Regions from separate parts of the Homo sapiens genome. Here region 2 is linked to region 1. Evidence: promoter capture Hi-C in 16 types of primary human blood cells and fetal thymus (Javierre and others, 2016). All regions are on one chromosome and are shown on one strand. Each heading gives the region's core, a stretch centred on a gene start or on the middle of the fragment in contact. The rest is flanking DNA. Distances are from core to core; before and after follow the strand shown.

Evidence for each region. The method cuts DNA at HindIII sites, captures the fragments that hold promoters and counts their contacts. A CHiCAGO score of 5 or more calls a contact.
Region 2: a fragment that was not itself captured here is called in contact with the fragment with the promoter of DEFB132 in region 1 in 6 of 17 cell types (naive CD8 T cells, total CD8 T cells, naive CD4 T cells and 3 more); the score reaches 6.7 in naive CD8 T cells.

What each region holds. Positions count from the first base shown.
Region 1 is chr20:256,102-259,201 of GRCh38, reverse strand. It overlaps DEFB132 (defensin beta 132), which reads right to left and starts at 1,478. Exons shown (of 2, transcript NM_207469.3): 1 at 1,366-1,478; 2 at 1-125. The coding sequence starts at 1,423. The HindIII fragment of the contact is 5,497 bases long and covers 364-3,100 here.
Region 2 is chr20:330,646-333,745 of GRCh38, reverse strand. No RefSeq gene overlaps it. Among named protein-coding and RNA genes, the nearest start is that of SOX12, 6.6 kb to the right of the region's middle. RefSeq lists an enhancer at 2,827-3,100. The HindIII fragment of the contact is 2,358 bases long and covers 396-2,753 here.

The sequences.
Region 1 (3,100 bases), core at 229-2,728:
GAAGGAGTAGCTGATGCAGCATTTTCTGGAAGCGTTGCACATGAACAATGCTGTCTCCCCCCAGTGGCAACATGTCCTGCAGTATCCTGGGGTGTTACTCACACATTTTGACCCACCTGCACTGGCTGTATGGGAGAGGACAAGACAGAGAAGTCATGGTTAGAAGCAGCACAGGGCTACTAAAGCGTCAGCGCCAGATGGGAGTGTTTGGCTTTTTGTTCTGAGGTGTATCCTTAGGATGTTGTGCAAATGAGACTTGGGAAAGCCAGTGATGAGGAGACAAAAATCTTCCTGGATTGATGGCCTTGGGGAACTCTGTCTGACGAGCTCTTCTTCTTTGCCAGTATCTGCATCTTTGAAGCTTTTTGCTAAATTTGATACTACAGAATAGGATGTATGGGTAAAAACAGGGGTGGGGAGCCTGGTCTTCACGGTCAGGGAGGAGCTTGGATACTCAAAAGGGAGAAATGGGGCTAGTCTCACTCACCCCACAGGCTCCCTTTTAAGGTGTTTCTACCTTACTTGTTTTCATAGACTCTAAAACTGTAAATATGAGTCAACCTGGGGCAAAGTGGGAGGAGTCAAATCTTTCTCCAAAATCATTAAAAAGAAAATAACGGTTGCCAGTGACAGGGCATTTTTGCATTCACCCAGTGCTGTGCACCATTTCACCATCTGCTGAAATCTGTTTGCCTCAGTGCTCTGTGTCTGCCATTGGCTCACAGCAGGGGCCTCTTCGGAGCACCCTCAAGCCTCTTTGGCTTTCTTCACATCCGTTGCCTGGCCCTCCTCTGATCTCTCTCTCTCCCTGCTCTCTGTGTGTCTGTCTCTCTCTCTTTCTGACCCTGCATTATCTCCTAGCCCCAGGGTTTGAGCTGAACCCATTGCTTACCATCCTGTGGGAACTAGCCCTCTAAGAGGTCTGCTTCCATCCCCCACCTGCCAGCTGTCTGTTGAGCATAGGGATGGGAACCTCAATCTCTTCCTTCTAGGCTCAAAATCTCCTTTGAGCTCCAACCCGGGCTGATCTCAATGGATGCACATGGTGATGACAGAAGCCTTCAGTGTGTCTTAGGAGGTTAGATATAAGGAGCTCACATAAAGTGAAAGAAGATATTTTGGTTTAGGTTGAGGGTGACTATCATTTTAGAATAGAAAACAAATTTTTGTAAAGGTTATATAGGGTGGTGTTTGGGTGTGGGATATCAAGGCTAGTGGTGGTTGTTAGGAGATCTCTACCTTAGACTGGAACTCAGTGGGGTGAGCCCTGCCTCCACCCAACCTGGCTCATCTATCACCAGAGCAACCAGATATGCTAGTGTTCCTCGTTCCCAGTTTTCCTTTCCTCCTATTTATCCAGTTTACCTGGGATCACCTGGGTCAGGAATCCGAGGGCTGCCAAGACCAGGAGCAGGAACTTCATGGCTGAAGGGGTGGCTTGGGGAGCTGGTGGTGGTTTAATGGAGTTGGGTCCCTCTGTAATGTGCTTGGAGCTACTGCCTTTATAGGATCCACATGATGCCAGGATACTGGGCAGTGAACCAAGGGAGACTTTTCTGTTACCCAGAGCAGTCAGATTAGATCAGAATGTCTACTGGACTGGAGCCTGGATTGATTTATTGAGCGCCTGTGTTCTAGACTGTTAGGAGGGGGAGAGGTAGAGCAAACAGTGCGTCGGTTCCCAGCGTTCATCTCTAAAACTATGCGTTCTAGACAGTGTTGGTGAGATGTGGGGAAACTAGCATTCTCTTGGCGTTGTTGCTGGGAGTGTTAATTGGTACAGTTTTTCTTTTGTAGCACAATTTGGCAATATATATCAGAAGCCTTAAAATGTGCCTATTTTTTTACTCAGAAACTTTGTACCTTGGGCTTTTGTTTAATGGGAATAATTGAACAAGTACATAAAGACGTTTATCTCAACATTACAGTAACAGAAAACCAAAAGCTACCTAAATGGTGATAAAACATGGATCTAATCTAATATAGAAAATACAGAATATAATAGAGCAGTATGCAGTTATTAAAATGATGAAAATGTATAAAAATGTAGGCTACAAGATATGCATCTAGAATAACTTAATCTGTGGTAAAGGAACATCTATGTGCCAACATATGTAGGTATATATGTATGTAGTATGTATGCATGTGTATCTATCTATCTATCTATCTATCTATCTATCTATCTATCTATCTGTCATCTATCTATCTATCTGTCTAAAATGTCTGAGTTTGGAGAGAATGATTATGTGTACTTTCATGATTAGAAAAAAAGAGAGTTTATAGAAAAACTACTTATTGTTTGAATTTTAATATGAACACTCTTACCTCTAAATTTTTGCTTTCTTTCCCTAGAGTTTAAGGTTTCTGGAGGCTAGAGACTTTGCCATTTCCACATTCTTCTCAAGAAATATTTTGTGTTTTCCTCCCCCCAATAGCGTCCTTTGGAGTCTGTTTCCCATTGAGACAGTTCTTTTCTGTTCCAGCTCACTTTTCCAGAATCCTTTCTCTAATGTGGTGCCTGCTGTATAAGGGAATAATCTCCGGAGTCCTGGTTTGGGCCAACTGAGTAGAGCAGCTCTAGCTTCTCACGTTTTCCTGGTCTAAAAAACCTGGTTTGATTTCAGGCACAAAACAAAACAAAACAAAAGATCTGGGACTTGGTAAGAATATGTCCCAAGACTTTAGCAGTCTTTACAGTCACTCAGATTTGTAAAAATATCTTAAAATCTGTAATTTTTCCAACTAAGTGATGTAAATTATAATCCTAAAATAAATACAAATCCCTTTGTGCCTTTGGTAAACCTATAACCACAGAAGCAAAGGCTTTTGTGTTTCTGTGCGTAGTCTTCAGTGAGTTAATTGTCTTTTTACCCTTCACTTGTTAAGCAATGATGACATTTATTTTCTCCTTGTTTCCATACAGCATGCACAGTCCATTGGATGTCATAAATATAAGTCACTCCAATTTCCTCAACCCATTAAAAAATCTTTTCATTTAAAAATAATTTAAAACATACCGGCTGCAAAATACAAATTGTACGATACCTTTTCCCCAGCTCCCCTGAGATTTGCCTATTGTTGACATTTTATCTTTCTTGCT
Region 2 (3,100 bases), core at 325-2,824, 74 kb before region 1:
GCCCCCCACCTTTTTTTTTTTACAGGCAGGGTCTAACTCTGTCACCCAGGCTGGAGTGTAGTGGCATGACCATGGCTCACTGCAGCCTTGAACTCCTGGGCACAAGAGATCTTCCCAGCTCAGCCTCCCGAGTAGCTGGGACTATAGGCTCACGCCACTGTGCCTGGATACTTTTTTAAATTGTATTTTTTAGAGGCAGGGTCTTGTTTCCTTGCCCAGGCTGGTCTCAAACTCCTGGCTTCAAGTGATCCTCCCACCTCGGCCTCCCATAGTGCTGGGATTACAGGCATGAGCCACCATGCCCAGCCTAGACCCTTAAGAATGTTTGTTGAATGGGTGGGTGAATGTGCTGAGGCATGGAGTCCAGTCCAGAGTCATTCCTTCCTTATGAAGCTTACATACAAATTAGAGAGAGAGAGACAAAAAGTAAAAACTACAGGTGATAAATGCCAGATAGTGATAAATGCTATTCAGAAAAATAAAGCAAAGTAACAGGATAGTTTATGGAGGATGTTACTTTATATGGATGGTCAGGGAGGACACTGTGAGGTACTCCCTGTGCCTACTCTAGGGCGCCCTGGGAGCTGAGACCTGAAGGAAGTAAGACATGTGGCTATCTGGAGGAAGGGTATTTTTTTGTTTGTTTTTTGAGGTGAAGTCTCGCTTTGTCTTGCCCAGGCTGGAGTGCAGTGATGCGATCTCAGCTCACTGCAGCCTCTGCTTCCTGGATTCAAGTGATTCTCCTGTCTCAGCCTCCTGAGTAACTGGGACTGCAGGCATGTGTCACCACGCCCAGCTAATTTTGTATTTTTAGTAGAGAAGGGGTTTCGCCATGTTGGCCAGGCTGGTCTCGAACTCCTGACTTCAGGTGATCCACCCACCTGGACCTCCCAAAGTGCTAGGATTAGAAGCGTGAGCCACCTCGCCCAGCCGGAGGAAGGGTATCTTAAGCAGAGGGAAAAGCATGTGCAAAAGCCTTCAGGCGGAAGTGTGATTGGCACTTTTGAGGAACAGCAAGACCAGTGTGACTGGGCATGTGAGAAACAGAAAAAGTAGAAGATGAAGCCGAGGCTGAGCCACAGGCTACTTCTTATGGGGCTTTGCAGGCCATGCTGAGGACTCTGGCTTCTACTGAATGAGAGTCTTTGGAGAATTTTGAACAGTGGCAGGGTGTGCTGGGATTTACAGTTTAACCAGATCACTCCGGCTGCTGTGTGGACAATAAGACTATGAGTGGGGCAAAGGAAAACGCAAGGAGCCCTTCGTATGCCCTTATATCCTGGACCCAGAGGCCATGGAAGATGTGAGAAGTGACAAGACACAGGGCATATTTTGAAGGTAGAGCCAACAGGGTATAAGGGAGATGGCGCTGGGAGGAAAAGAGGCATCAAGGATAACTGAGAGGCTTTAGCCTTTCATTTCACATCAGCTGTGCAGATGTGGTCTGTGGAAGCAGGCTTGGGAGCACTGTGGAAACAGTTCATTTTTTGGCATGTCCAGTTTGAGGTGCCAATTAGATATATCAGTGGAGATGACAAGAAGGCAGCTAGTCTAGTCATGTCTGGGATGGAGATGTAGACCTGAGAATTCTCAGCTATGATACTTCAGCTTCCCAAGTAGCTGAGACTACAGGTGTGTACCACCGTGCCTGGCTAATTTTTTTAAAAAAAACTTTACTAGAGATTAGGTCTTGCTATGTTGGCCAGGTTGGTCTTGAACTCCTGGACTCAAGAAATCCTCCCACCTTGGCCTCCCGAAGTGCTGGGATTACAGGTGTGTGATAAGCAGAATTCTAAGATGGCCCCCAAGATTCCCAGTCTCTGGTGTAGCTGCCCTAGACAGCCTCCTCCCTTTTGAGTGTGGGCAAATCTAGTATGACAGCTGTCACTCTTATAAGGCTACAATATACTGCAAAGGTGAAGGGATTTTTTGCAGATATAAAATCCCACATTAGTTGATGCCTAATCAAAAAGGAGATTTTCCTGGGTGAGTCTGACCTAATTAGGGAAGGCTTTTTTTTTCTCTCTCTCTTTTTCCTTTTTTTTCTTTTTTTTTTTTTGAGACAGAGTCTTGCTCTGTCGCCCAGGCTGAAGTGCAGTGGCTTGGTCTTGGCTCACTGCAACCTCCGCCTCCCAGGTTCGAGTGATTCTCCTGCCTCAGCCTCCCAAGTAGCTGGGATTACAGGCGACTGCCACCACGCCAGGCTAATTTTTGTATTTTTAGTAGAGAAGGGGTTTCACCATTTGGCCAGGCTGGTCTCGAACTGCTGACCTCAGGTGATCCACCCACCTTGGCCTCCCAAAGTGCTGGGATTACAGGCATGAACACACCATGCCCAGCCAGGAGAGGCTTTTAAAAGAGAGCTTAAACCTTCCCTGAGCCAAGTGACTCCAAGCAGCAGAAAAATTCTCCTCTGGCCTTGACAAAATAAGTTGCAATATTGTGAGAAGGCTGGGGAGGCCCTGTGGGGGCCATGTGGCAAGAAACTGAGCAGCTTGTAGTAATCAAGAGTGGTACTAACTGACAGCCAGCAATAGAACAGGGATCTCTGTCCTATAAGCACAAAGAACTGAATTCTGCCCACTACCGTGAGAGCTTGGAAAAGGCTGCTGAGCTCCAAGAAGGAATGCGGGCCACCAGCACCCCAGCTGCTGCCTTGTGAGATCCTGAGCAGAGACCCAGCTAAGGCATGCTGGACTCCTGATGCATGGAGACTGAAATAACAAATGCATGTTGTTTTACACTGCTAAGCTTGTGGCAATTTGTTACGCAGCAATAGATGAGAAACAATACATCAGCGTATGGTGTTTTGAAAGCCTTGGAAGCAGGGTGGCTCACACCACCCAGGCAAGGGGCATGACCCAGCAATGAGTCAATGCATGAATGGAGTGAGACTCGAGTGGGACTCAGTTCCTTGGCCTGGGACACACCCCGACTCCCACCTCCCAACTGCACAGAACCTTGGTTCTACTCCTCTTAGCCACTAGGTGGCCCCAGAGACCCCATAAGGAGCTGTCTCCCCGACCTTTCAGGTCAGCATCTGAAATGGAAGGAACCAAAATGAGATGGTCCCTCTTCTAGTCCTATTACCGACTCCCAG